Linked DNA regions of Homo sapiens: all the other regions are linked to region 4. Evidence: promoter capture Hi-C in 16 types of primary human blood cells and fetal thymus (Javierre and others, 2016). All regions are on one chromosome and are shown on one strand. The core of a region is centred on a gene start or on the middle of the fragment in contact, and the rest is flanking DNA. Distances in the headings are between cores, read along the strand shown.

Region 1 (2,700 bases), core at 101-2,600, 380 kb after region 4:
AATTGAAAGATACAGGGGGTATATTAAAAAATAAATCTGTTTCTACGACCTCTGCTAAAGTACATTTGAAATACCATATCGTTGATTTCACACTAGTGTACGTGAACTATCTCTGTTGTTTTTTCTGGTCTCTATTTTTTCCTTTCACTCGCCCATGTCTTCTTGGTGCCATGCTAACCACACCACACTAAGGCTGGAGGTTGAGGGATGTGATGCCAGGAACTAAGGCAGTGGGTAAGGAGGCGTGGTTGGAAGTGAGAGCAACAGGAGAAACCATCAGTCATCTCATCCCTCTGAATCCTGGCAGTACCATATTTTAGAAACTTAATCCCAAGAGGAAGTCAAGTACATCCGCCTTTCCCCTGCCCTTGTTGCATGCTCATATCTCTGAGTCAAGGAATGGCCTAATTTTATACTTCTTTTGTAAAGCAAGGAAGTCGTTGAGATGGAAAACATTAATCTGCATTTCCTCTGACATTGCTTTTATTGTCATACGCTGCACACGGTTAGCACTCAAGACCAGCTCATACTTCTCCTAGATATTTCTAGAATTTATGTCATCCTCTCCAATCCACTTACACTGCCAGGCTTTCATGGTCTTAAATCTGGATTATTGCAGGAGCCTCTTACTTGGTCTTTCTGCCAACAGTCTTTTCCTATCCCAGTCCATGCTTACTACCAGCTCACTGGAGTGGTGAGCTAATTACAGTCTGATTTAAAATATTTCCATGGCTCTCTGCTGCCTGTCAAACAAAGCAAAAACTCCCTAATGCAACATAGAAGGCCCTCCATGATCAGACCCCAGCCCAGCCTAGGCTTCAAGCCCACCACTCTCTCATGTATTCTACAGTCCAGCCACATCAAGCTGTTTTCATTCCTGACCTCCATGCCATCGTACGTGCTGGCCACACTTCCAGGAATCTCCTTATCTGCCCAACAAATTCTATTCATTCTTCAAAACTCAGCTCAAGAGCATCATTTCCTCTGACTCCTTCCCAGGTCCACTCAGTGATTCCTGCAATTGCTTCGTGTATAATTCCCATAGATCTAGAAGCATACCTCTGTTGGAGCACTTCTCATGCGCCATCATAATCATTTTCTCATGTCCATCTCCCCCAAAAAAATGTTTCTCGAGGAGTAGGCTAAGCGGTTCATTCTACAACTTCTTCAGTAAATACAGGGCTCGGAGTCCTGATGCTGCCATTTACAAGTCGGGGGAATATCTAAAGGTCCCTAACATCTTTGATCCTCAGCTTCCTGATACACGAGGAGGGGCAGTGATAGAATATAATTCATAATGTTGTTATGAACAATAAATACAATAAGAGAAGTAAAGACCTTAATAGAATGCTTATATATAGTTAATGCTGGGTGATGGCTATTATCATTATATGATTACTGTGTGCCAAGCACTTAGTGCCAAGACAATTAAAGCCTGCCCTCGAGGTCTTTAGGGTATAGCCAAAGAGACGGACAAGCAATTCGCTCAATGTCAGAAGACGCAGAGGGTGCCATGAGAGCTCAAGATGGGGCACCTGCTGTCACTAAATGTCACACCTGCTGGAAAGATTGAAAGCGGACGAATCTGAAACAAGGGAAAACAGGTACAGACTACGGATATACTCCAGTGAGACATGATGCTGGCCTGCACTACAGCAGCAGCAGTGGGAAGGAAGAAAGGGACCAAGTTTGAAGATATCCTGGAGGTGGAATCAAGTCATGTGACTGGATGAATAATGAGATGTTTGGGGTGGTCTGTGTGGGGTTGGTGGGGAGTCTGGGTGAACACAGGTGGGTGGGAGGGTTATGTATGCAGACGCAGAATCCACTGATGTGTTGGTTTTAACTGAGCAGTGAGATAGCACGTGATCCCCAAGGAAAGCGTATGAAATGCGTGAGCTGAGCAGAGGGCTGCAAGGAGCAGCAGCACCGGGCAGGCGGTGAAGATCAAACAGGACCATGTATGCAGACAGACAGTGCCTACACTGAGAAGCGTCCCCACATTTCCACCGGAGACAGGCTCCTTCATCCCTCTTGGTTTACTGTGTGTTCCCAAGGAAGCCTCTGCGTCACAAATACTCATTGACCACTGACTGTGTCCCAAGCCCTGGGCTCTGGGTGCTGTGTGTAACTGCAGCTTCAGAACCAGGTTCCCATGCACTGCAGACTCAGCCCAGGGAGGGTGCTTAGAAAAGCCATGTCATCCTCCTGAACACATTTCCAGAGCACTCTCAAAGGCTCTTTTCTCAAAATCCTCAACAACAACAAAACCACATCAGGAGTATCTGCTCAATTACCCATGGCAGAGATTCGGGGTACTCCCTGCTGAGGCCAGAATCCCAGTCCCCTGAGGTCATCTGAACTGTTGGTCAGATGTCTGGGACAGCAGTGGCTTAAGGCCCTGGACACTGTCTGGGACCGTGGCTAGGTACAGGAACGGGGAATGATACGAAGGCAATTGTTTCTAACAGCCTAGGAGTACAGCTAAAATCTCATCAAATTCCAGCCATTCCCCATGACAATATTTTCACCCTTTTCCCAAATCCAGTTTTTCACGAGGAGATTCCCTCCTCTCTTCATCTCCCTCTATCTTACCCTTTCTGCTAAAATTGTTCTCCTTTGGAAACAAATAGTTCTGTTTCTTCTTTGGAATGCCTCGGGAGGTCAGGAACTCTTATCTCCTCCTTCACAACATTCTGG
Region 2 (2,700 bases), core at 20-2,519, 400 kb after region 4:
CAGAAAATCAGCAAAATTTAATCCAAAGCACTCAGAGGTTTACCACCTGAGCAGTCAAACTTGGCTTCCCACGGTCAGATGATAGTCACACCTCCTAATGAGTGAACAGTTATTCCGAGGGTGACCAGCCTGAACCCGGGTGCACCAGAGGCAGTGATGTGTGCCCTGCACACCCAGCCAGGTCTGCCACCTGTGCTTGCTGGAAGCACTACCTCCACTTCTAGGAGCCCCATGGAGGACTTCAAATGCCCTTCTCTTCCCATATTCTTTCGTCTTCAAAGACCCACTCTCCCAGAAAGTTTTCCTTCCCAAGAGCTCTGAAACCTAGAAAACAACCACTGTCAAAACTTGGGAGGGGCCTGGGCGCAGTGGCTCATGCCTGTAATCCCAGCACTTTGGGAGGCCAAGGCAGGCAGATCGCTTAAGTCTAGGAGTTCAAGACCAACCTGGGAAACATGGTGAGACCCTGTCTCTACAAAACATAAACAAAATTAGCCAGGCATGATGGTGCACACCTGTAATCCCAGCTCTGCCTCCCAGGTTCAAGCGATTCTCCTGCCTCAGCCTCCCTAGTAGCTGGTATTACAGGCACCTGCCACCATGCTCAGCTAATTTTTGTATTTGTAGTAGAGATGGGGTTTCGCCATGTTGGCCAGGCTGGTAGGAGGAGGCTGAGGTAGGAGGATCACTTGAGCCTGGGAGGGTAATCTACAGTGACCCGTGATCACGCCACTGCATTCCAGCCTGGGTGACAGAGCAAGACTCTGTCTCAAAAAAAAAAAAAAAAAAAAAAAAAACACTTGGGAGGGGACCTTCACCCGACCAGCAGTTTAGGGAATGTGACAGCTGAGAAACATGGATCAGCGTGTGAACTGTGGGGAAGGGAGCCAAGATGAGGGCAGGGATGAAGGCTCTTGCAAGGGCATAGTGAAGGATGTAGGTGTAGGACGGGTGTGGTGTAGGACCCAGCAAGGCTGGAGCTCTGGACATTCTAGCCTAGCAGTTGCAGCCTGCGGGGGCAGGCACCTACCCTTGCCTCTGGGCTGCCCTGCACACTCACTGCTCCCTGTGTAAGAGGGAGAGGGCGCAGAAATAAGAATCAAGAAGTCTAGATTCCGGTCCTGGCCCTATCACTAAGTAGATGTGTGACTTTATCCAAGTCCTCTCTCTTCGGGGCCTTGGTTTCCTGCTCTGGGGAAGGGCCAACTTTCAACTAGAGCCTGAATCAACCAGTGCTTTCAGCCTCTGCTCCTTCCCCAGTCCCAGAGCATGCAGCCCCTTCTGGCCCTGTAGGTTATAAAGGGAACCCACAGAATGACATATTTTTAGAACCCCAAGGAACATCTTGTCTACTGACCCAAGTCATGTAGTTGACAGCACTCGCTCTCAGAAAAGTGGAAGTCACCCACGTGGAGATTCAGAGTCCTGTTCCCCGGCCCCGCTCTTCAGAAATGCCTAGACCAGGCAGGATGCAGTGGCTCGGGCCTGTAATCCTAGCACTTCGGGAGGCCAAGGCGGGAGGACGACTTGAGGCCAGGAGGTCAAGACCAGCCTGGGCAGCGTAACAAGACCCCATCTCTACAAAAATTAAAATTTAAAAAAGAAAGAAAGAAACCGCTAGACCAGATTGAATGCTCAGACTGGGATCTAGAGGGCGTCTGGAACTCAGCCACCCCGCAGCCGCCTCTGTGGCTGGGAAGTCCTTACGGCCAAAAGCCTCCTTCCTCCTAGGGAGGGTGGATTTTCTCTGGAGCAAAGACATGCAGCTGCAGGCCCTTCTTGGCCAGAAGCAACCTGTTCTTTCCATCAAGAAGTCCCGGTTTCCCTGGATCAAATGAGAGGAACAAGGAAAGAGCCGGCAAATTTCCTGAGGGTAAGAGTGGCTCTGGAAGCAGCCGTCTTGCAGTAACCAGCGTCTTCACTGTGGGAAGACACAGCTGTATGGGGTCAGAAGCTCTGCCTGTCCTCCTCCCCACCCCGGCAGGGACTCAATGAAGAACCGCTGGGCCTCTGCACTTTGAACGCCTACGAGTGCTTATACAGGGGCCCAGCAGTGCCTCCTTTGTGGCATCAAAAATCTCCACCCTTCTGGAATGAACTCAGAGGCACTAAAACTGCCTTAACCTCTTCAGCCCAAGTGCTTGCCTCCAAAAAACAGAAGCTGTTCTGCCTTCTTCCTCCCAGAAGGTGTAGGTATTCCTAACCCAGCCCCTACCTGCCTCACGATTCCCAGCAATTGGCTGTTTTTCTTTGTAGCTGCAGCCACTTTTCCAGATGATCCTGGAATCATCTTGGCCAGGAACCTTAATCCTCCTGGACTGTTATTTTCTAACTGTCCCTTCTTATAAAATAATTTAGGATTGGAGCCACACCTTAAATAAATAAACAAGGATAACATCTGACAGTAGCTTGTTTACCAGTGTCACTCCATACACACCTCCACCACGATTCCCACCAGCTGCCATCCCTGTGAACCACCTTCCTACCTCTTCTCATTTCCCAGGCATGTACCAAGATGCTCAATGTTTTCCAGCAGTACAAAGACAGAGGGATGCACAAAAATCAAGCACATTAACTTTTTTTTTTTTTTTTGAGACTGAGTCTCGCTCTGTTGCCCAGGCTGGAGTACAGTCGTGTGATCTCGGCTCACTGCAACCTCTGCCTCCCGGGTTCAAGCATCTCGTGCCTCAGCCTCCCGAG
Region 3 (2,700 bases), core at 67-2,566, 450 kb after region 4:
TTCTGCATTTTTTTATTTGTCGTATGAGCAACTATTACTTTTATAACTTTTAAAAAATTATTTTCATTTTGAATACTCTATGAACCTTTGGGCATACAGCATTCCAAAGGGCAAAGCTTTGTTCTCATAGGTCAGTTGTAAAATGGGAAGCAGGGCCAGGCATGGTGGCTCACACTTGTAATCCCAGTACTTTGGGAGGCCGAGGCAGGTTGATCACTTGAGGTCAGGAGTTCAAGACCAGCATGGCCAACATGGTGAAACCCCATCTCTACTAAAAATACAAAAATTAGCCAGGCGTGGAGGTGTGCACCTGTAATCCCAGTTATTCGGGAGGCCGAGGCACAGGAATCATTTGAACCCAGGAGGCGGAGGTTGCAGTGAGCCGAGATCACGCCTTTGAACTCCAGCCTTGGCAACAGAGCAAAACTCTGTCAAAAAAAAAGGAAGCAATTCTGTTTCTTTCCCAAGCATTGTCCTATCACCAGAACCAGTGGCTGGTAGACTATGGCAACACCTCGCAGGGATGTTTCCTTTAGACCAGAGTTCCTCTGCCTTGGCACTAGGGACACTTAGGACTGGATAATTGTTACCGTGGGGCCTGTGCATTGCTGGATGTGGAGCAGCATCACTGGCCTCTACCCACTAGATGTGGTCACGTACACCCTCCACAGCTGTAGCCACCAGAGTATCTCCAGACATTGCCAAATGTCCCCTGGAGGGCAGAATTCGCCCCAACGGAGAACCACTGCATTATATGCAACCTTATTCCCATAAAAGGGTGTCATTCATTCATTCAGCAGATAGCCTATTGAGCACCTTACTAAGCATAAGGCACTGTTTTAGACACTGAGGAGTCAGTAGTGAATGAGTCCAGCCTGGTCTCTGTGCTCACAAAGCCATGCAGGCCACACAGTCATTAAACAAATGATTGAGGCAGTTTACGGCACTCCATGCACCAAGATGATAATGACTAGATGAGGAAGCCAGGGCATTGGCCACCCAGTGACACAGATACTGAAGCCTCCTGGCCTTTGCTCCTCATTCAGTGTGCCATTGTATGTTGCAGCCCGTGGCAGATGGAGGCTGGGCACCGTGGGGACCCTGGGGAGAATGTTCTCGGACCTGTGGAGGAGGAGTACAGTTTTCACACCGTGAGTGCAAGGACCCCGAGCCTCAGAATGGAGGAAGATACTGCCTGGGTCGGAGAGCCAAGTACCAGTCATGCCACACGGAGGAATGCCCCCCTGACGGTAATTACCACTCAGGGCCGCCCCTGCCAGAGCAGCTACTATCATTGCTATGACGCATCCCCAGAGGATGTGTAAAGTGGGAGTGAAGTGGGTGTCCCGGGATATAGAGTTACTCCCAGAGGGGAGTAAATTGGGTCTCCTGGGATGTAGAGTTTTGCCTGTGATCTCCACCTAAATGGGCTCTGCAAGGTTCCAATCCCAGGGGCAGCTCTCAGGGACCCGGGACAGCTCTCATAGTGTTCAGAGAGCCTGGCAAAGTCAAGGAGAGAAATTACGCTCATCTTCCAAGATGTGGAGAGGAGGACATCACTCCCAACCAAACTTATTGGGGAGGAGCCTCTGCAGAGGGGCTGGTGTCTAGGAAACTAATCCTCCTGGAGGCATAGGAACCCTCATCTGTGTGCAGAATGGAAGCATTTTCCAAAGCAAGTGTCAGAGCCAAACCTCCAAGGTCTTTCTAGCCAAAATTCAGCCCAGGGCAGAGGGAGGATTTCTGAATCTGATTCCTGTTCACATTCCTTCTGAGAAGAGTTGCCCATCTTCCCTTGGGAACATGGCAACTGTTTGACAGAATCTTCCCAGGAAGGAATACTACCTCTCCCTCCCCTTGGCATATTCCTATCCCCAGTACCTGCTGGAAACCATGAACATTAACTTAGAGGCAGTAAAGGGGCAGCAGCAAACTCGTGAGAGGGAAATCATTACAAGGTTTTTCCCCACCATCCCATCCAACTGCCCAGTGTGCAGCTCCAGGAAGGATTGGCAGGCAAGAAAAATCAGGCAGAGCCTTAGGAGAGATTCAACCACGGGAAAAGACACTGGCATTGGGTTGATGTCTCAGGAGAATCTGTAGGCTTTGCGGTTTCACAAGACAAGAAGGATCCACAATGGTTTGAGGCTCTAGAAACTTTGCCCTGGAATTGTATGAGAGTTTGCCTGGCATACAGGGTGAGACGTTGCTGGGAAAGGGGGAGGATGAGAATGAATATAGGGTGCAAGGTAGGTGTGGACGAAAAGTGATGCCATGATGTCAGATGCACCAAAGTCTGCCATTACTGTCGAGTATTTTTTAGTATTTTTTGTGTGTCTAGAACTATAAAAATGTATGAAAATGTAAAAGGCATGGTCTCTGTCCCTAAGGAGCTTGTAGTCCAATTAGAGACCCAAATCCCTTTAACACAGCCATTACATTTCAATGGATGAGTCACAGACCCTAGGTTGGTGAGGCGCTCGGAGAAAGGAAAGGCTGGGTGAGCGGAAGCTTTGAAAGGAGTTAGGACTGAGCAGAGTCTGGAGGACTGAGATGGGTGAGGTGTGAGGGGACCTGCCAGGGTGGTGGAAAGGTGTGAGAAGGGCCCTCATTCACTTAGGTGGAATCAAGCAAAGCACACCACTATGTCAAGGCCAGACCACAGAGGTCCTTGAAGGCTGACACAGTATCTGGGAGTTA
Region 4 (2,700 bases), core at 26-2,525:
AAAAGTAAATGAGAACAAGGCCAATAGCATAAAATTTCACTCCTTCACACTCCTAAGTGTTTTTCGAGGCACTGCGGAAAAGGAAGCATCTATCGTGGTTGGTCCAGCATCCCTTCAGTAGCTTAGATCTGCAGAAATACTGTTGGAACATCGTTTCTTTATTCTTCCCATCCTTTGTGTGTTAGGCCAAACCCTGAGGACTGTCTGCCTTGGAATAGAGAGGAAATCCAAGCATATGTGCAAAGTTGAGCTGCACTTTCAGCCCCAGGTCTTCAATGGGCCTTCTCCACAGGCACCTGTGAAATGCCAGCAGGGTCGTTGCATGTAGAGGGATCCCACTCAGTGCACCCCTGGGAATGGCTCAGCCGCACTGTGGGTGTAAGCATTAATCACACAACAGCCATTCTACATATTCCTTTTTTATTCTCCAGAGAGTGCCAGGAAAAGTCCTGCCCAGTCAAAAGTCTTCTCTTGCAGCTGGGTGTTGAGGGTGATTGCCCCTCTCTCTCCTTGTAAGATTATGTTTGACAGCAGTGAAAACCAACAGTTTAACAGCAGTAATCTCTTGGCAGGACAGATTGATATGAGCCTTGTCCCAAAACAAAGTAATCCTTTCAGGGAAGTGTATTTCAAGTTGAGCTCACGTTCCCAAGATGCTGAGATTCTTATGTAGCTGACACCGGAGCTGAGGCTGAGCCCCAGCCAGGGATATCCAACGATTGCCAGTAACACCACGGAACTGAGTGAAGATTCAGGGGCTGAGTGTGTTCCTGAGTGCTTCAAACCGGGGGACCTGGAAACCAGAGGACTCCTGGGGAAAGGCTGTCAACTCCAGCCTGCTCTTCCTAAATGGCCTTGTTAGTAGTGACTTCAGCCCTGGCGGTGAGGCATGTGGGTCAGAATAACATTCCCTTTCTTTTCCCTTCACCTCTTTTTTCTCCACGGTTCCTTTTCATAACTTCTTTATTTGCTGCCTAGAGGAGCTTTCTGGACATTTTGTCTCCAGGGAGCGTGACATGTCACCTGTTTCTCACCTCATATGCCTCTGATCTTCTACACCAAGGTAGCTATAAAGGCTTGCTTTCTAGGCTGGGTTTCCCTGCACAGGCCCACTGAACCACTCAAACCTCAGAGGTGGAAGTGCCCAGCGGGCCTCATGGTCAGCTGGGGATAACGGAGTCATTTTCGCAGCCCAACTTCTGAAATTCCACAAGAGGGCGCCCAAGGTCTCCCAAGTCCGGCCACGCCCGGTGGCCTTGAGGCCGGAAGGTGGCGCTGTTGCTTTAGCCATCAAGAAAGGCAAGGCTGGGGACGCCGCATCCCCGGGTGCGGAGGGCGATGCCTAGGGGCGATGCTGTGCCTGTGGCGGCCAAACAGTGCCACCCACTCCGGGAAACAAAGCCAAGCGCCGGACGCTAGGTATGGGAGAGAAGAGCCACCCTGACCCAAGGGAGGGCTCTAGGTGAGGAGCCAGCGTCCTCCGGCTCCGGTTCCCGCTGCACTGCTGCTTTGCCAGGAGGCCTTGAAGAAAGTCATTCATTCTTTCTCCCCCACAGCTTCCTAGGTCTTCCACGTGTTCAACGGAAATTCACAAATTCTCTAGTAGCAGGTAAGCTTCGGATTCAGGAATGAAAAAGACAAAGCCCTGTCCTGGGTGAATTCATTATCCATGGACAGGGGAGGCAGGCGCATCATCGGAAAGTCACCGTGTGAGGAGGGACGTGGAGGCACAGAGGTGCACACGGAAGCCCCCAGAAGAAGGACTTCCCCCAGCCTGGGGAAGCTGGGCGGGCAGGGGTGGGCCAGCGAAGCCTTCCCGGTGATTCTAGGCAGTCTTAAAAGGTGTTAGGAGTCAACTTGGGAAAGATTAGGAAAAGGCAGTGTAGGCCAAGGGACGGCCGGAGCAGAGGCCGCGCGGCAGTGCTGGCATGTGGGTGGGCGGTGGTAAGGAAGGCGGTGGATGAGGATGCAGGGAGCAGATGGGCTGCGTTGCAGGCTGGGCCCCTATGGCCCTCAATAGGTTTTGTGGTCAACATGCTTTGTGGAGTTACAACAAGCAATGGTGGCCCTAACACATATATTCATTTATAGGTCCATAAATCTGCATTCATAGAGATAAATGAGTAATCCCCAGGGTGAAGGAGAACTGGAAGAGACACTGGAGCCAGGTCCACCCTTGGCCAGGTTTTACCTTGACTTGGCGTCATCACTAGGCACTGGTTTTTTTCTCTCTCCTTCTTCCCTGACCAAGAAATACAACAAATTCGTTATGATATCGACTTGTCATGATCCGAAATTGAAGAGCAACCATATATTTATTTGGCAAGATAAATACACACATTCTTTACATAAGATTAGTAGCCACCAGTTTCTAAAAGCATATATTGTCATTTATTTGCCAAAACAAAGGTACATGCCCACATGTTATAGATGGGAAAGATGAGGCCCAGAGCTCGGGTGCATGGCTGAGGTCACCCAATTAGTGGATGGTGGTGCTGGCACTTCTGTCTGGGCTGCTTCACCTTGTCACACACTCTCCACTCCATGCAGGCCGCACCTCTCTAGCAGGGTTTATCACCCAGCTTAGTATCACTAGTACCCAGCACACTCACTCTGTGAAAGACACTGCACTGTGATCTGTAGGGTCTAAAGCTAGGGGTCCATGTCACATACAGAATGGCACTTTTCACAGAAAGAGAG
Region 5 (2,700 bases), core at 168-2,667, 510 kb after region 4:
AAAGAAAAAAGAAAGAAAAGAAAGAAATGAAAAAGGTTATAAGATAATTCTATGAACAACTGTTTGCCAACACACACTGGGTAACCTAGATAAAGTGGACAGATTCCTAGAAATACACAACCTACCAAAACTGACTCAGGAAGAAATAGAAAATGTAAGAAATAGGAAATAGAATACTATAACTAGTAGGGAGATTGCCTTAGTAATCAAAACATCTTAACAAAAAAAAAGCCCAGGATCAGTTGGCTTCACTGGTGAATATTACCAAATACTTAAGAAGCACTAATAGCAATCCTTCTCAAACTCTTCAAAAGAATTGAAGAGAAGAAACTACTTACAAATCTCATTCTATGTGGCCAGCATTACCCTCATATCAAAGCCATACAAAGACACTACACAAAAAGAAAACTACAAATCAATGTCCCCTATGAATATTGACACAGAAATCCTCAACAAACTACTATCAAAAAATTCAGTAGCATATTAATAAGGAGCTATACACCATTACCAAGTAGGTTTTATTCCTAGAATGCAAGAACAGTTCAACACACAAAAAATCAATCAGTATAATACACCATATCAACAGGATGAAGGAGAAGAAAACCACATGATCATCTCAATTGATGCAGAAAAAGCATTTGACAAAATTCAACACCCTTTCATGATTTAAAAAAATCAATAAACTAGGAATAAAAGGAAATCTTTTCAACTTGATAAAAGCTATTATTAAAAACCAATGGCTAACATCATACTTGATACTAAAAGACTAAAAGCTTTCCCTCCAAGATTAGGAATAAGACAAGGATGCCTGGTTTTGCCACTTCTATTCAAAACAAAACTGGAAATTGTAGCCAGAGCAACGAGGCAGGACAAAGAAATAAAAGGCAACCAAACTGAATCAACTGAAGTAAAATTATCTGTGTTTACAGATGACATAATCTGAAATGTAGGAAAAAGTAAATATTCTACCAAAAACCAGTTAGACCTAATAAACAAATTCATAAAACTTGTAGGATACAAAATCAACACTCAAAAATCAGTTGTATTTCTACATATTAGTAATGAGCAATCTGAAAAAGAAATTAAGAAAGCAATTGCATTTATGATAACATCAAAAAGAATAAAATGCCTAGAATAAAATTAATCAAGGAGGTGAAAGATTTGTCCACTGAAAAACTACAAAAGCTGCTGAAAGAAACGAAAGGTAAATGGAAAAACATCCCATGTTCATAGATTGGAAGCCTTAATTAATATGTCAATATTACCCAAAGCAATTCAATGCTATCTTTATCAAAATCCCAATAATGTTTTTTGCAGAAATAAAAACAATCCATCCTAAAAATTAATATGGGCCTCGAGGGACCCCAAATAGCCAAAACAATGTTGAAAAATAACAAATTTTTCAACTCACATTTTCTGATGGTGCTACACCATCACAGTGTGATACTGCCATAAAGACAGATCTACAGACCAAAGGAATAGAATAGAGACCCCAGAAATAACCTGCTGCACATACAATCAAACAATTTTCAACTGGGTTGCCAAGGCCATTCAATGGAGAAAGTAGTGTTTTCAAGAAATGATATTGGGAAAACTGGATATTCACATGCAAAAGAATGAAGTTACACCCTTATCTTACACAATATGCGAAAATTGACTCAAAATGGATCAAAAGTCTAAACATTAGAGATAAAACTATAAAACTCCCAAAAGAAAACATAGTGAGCCAGGTGTGGTGGCTCATGCCTGTAATCCCAACACTTTGGGAAGCGAAGAGTGGCAGATCACTTGAGGTCAGGAGTTTGAGACCAGCCAGGCCAACTTGGTGAAACCCCATCTCTATTAAAAATACAAAAATTAGCTGGCATGGTAGCATATGCCAGCAAAAATTAGCTGGCATGGTAGTCTTAGCTACTTGGAAGGCTGAGGCAGGAGAATTGCTTGAACCCAGGAGACGGATGTTGCCATGAGCCAAGACTGCGCCACCTCACTCCAGCCTAGGTGACAGAGTGAGACTCCGTCTCAAAGAAAAAAAGAAAAGAAAACATAGTGGAAAGCTTCATGACATTGGATTTGTCAATGAATTCTTGGATATGACATGAAAAGCACAGGCAAAAAAAGAAAAAAAAATAGATAAATCGGACTTCATCAAAATTTAAAAATTTTGTGTATCAAAGAAAACTATGAAGGGCTGGGTGAGATGGCTTACACCTGTAATCCCAGCACTTTGAGAGGTTGAGGTGGGTGGATCACCTGAGGTCAGGAGTTCGAGACCAGTTTGGCCAACATGGTAAAACCCCTATCTATACTAAAAATACAAAAATTAGCCAAGTGTGGTGGCATGCACCTGTAGTCCCAGATACTGGGAGGCTGAGGCACGAGAATTGCTTGAACCTGGGAGGTGGAGGTTGCAGTGAGCTGAGATTGCACCACTATACTCCAGCCTGAGCAACAGAACAAGATTCCATCTCAAAAAAAAAAAAAAAAAGAAAAAGAAAAAAAAGAAAGAAAGAAAGAAAGAAAACTACGAAAAAAGCAAAAATGCAACCCATAGAAAAGGAGAAAATATTTGTAAGTCATGTAACTGAGAAGGGATTAATATCCAGAATACATCTTATTCGTAAAACTCCTACGATTCAACAATAACAACAAAATTTGTTTGAAGTAGGTAAAAGACTCAAATAGACGTTACTCTAAAGA

What was found. The method cuts DNA at HindIII sites, captures the fragments that hold promoters and counts their contacts. A CHiCAGO score of 5 or more calls a contact.
Region 1: a fragment that was not itself captured here is called in contact with the fragment with the promoter of LINC02551 in region 4 in 6 of 17 cell types (endothelial precursors, M0 macrophages, M1 macrophages and 3 more); the score reaches 6.9 in endothelial precursors.
Region 2: a contact is called between a fragment that was not itself captured here and the fragment with the promoter of LINC02551 in region 4, in 16 of 17 cell types (megakaryocytes, endothelial precursors, total CD8 T cells and 13 more). The highest score is 14.9, in megakaryocytes.
Region 3: a fragment that was not itself captured here is called in contact with the fragment with the promoter of LINC02551 in region 4 in 15 of 17 cell types (M0 macrophages, total B cells, fetal thymus and 12 more); the score reaches 10.6 in M0 macrophages.
Region 5: a contact is called between a fragment that was not itself captured here and the fragment with the promoter of LINC02551 in region 4, in 1 of 17 cell types (total CD8 T cells). The highest score is 5.7, in total CD8 T cells.

The regions. Positions count from the first base shown.
Region 1 is chr11:130,478,630-130,481,329 of GRCh38, reverse strand. No RefSeq gene overlaps it. Among named protein-coding and RNA genes, the nearest start is that of ADAMTS15, 31 kb to the right of the region's middle. RefSeq lists an enhancer at 2,444-2,700. The HindIII fragment of the contact is 3,878 bases long and covers 1-2,700 here.
Region 2 is chr11:130,457,123-130,459,822 of GRCh38, reverse strand. All of the region lies in intron 1 of ADAMTS15 (ADAM metallopeptidase with thrombospondin type 1 motif 15), which reads right to left. Among named protein-coding and RNA genes, the nearest start is that of ADAMTS15, 9.8 kb to the right of the region's middle. The HindIII fragment of the contact is 4,486 bases long and covers 1-2,700 here.
Region 3 is chr11:130,409,967-130,412,666 of GRCh38, reverse strand. It overlaps ADAMTS8 (ADAM metallopeptidase with thrombospondin type 1 motif 8), which reads left to right. Exons shown (of 9, transcript NM_007037.6): 6 at 1,067-1,250. Among named protein-coding and RNA genes, the nearest start is that of ADAMTS8, 17 kb to the left of the region's middle. The HindIII fragment of the contact is 2,395 bases long and covers 119-2,513 here.
Region 4 is chr11:130,860,685-130,863,384 of GRCh38, reverse strand. It overlaps LINC02551 (long intergenic non-protein coding RNA 2551), which reads left to right and starts at 1,275. Exons shown (of 6, transcript NR_125383.1): 1 at 1,275-1,419; 2 at 1,557-1,609. RefSeq lists enhancers at 913-1,413, 1,414-1,914. The HindIII fragment of the contact is 6,813 bases long and covers 1-1,616 here.
Region 5 is chr11:130,352,452-130,355,151 of GRCh38, reverse strand. The region is part of intron 1 of ZBTB44-DT (ZBTB44 divergent transcript); the gene reads right to left. Among named protein-coding and RNA genes, the nearest start is that of ZBTB44-DT, 39 kb to the right of the region's middle. The HindIII fragment of the contact is 1,284 bases long and covers 776-2,059 here.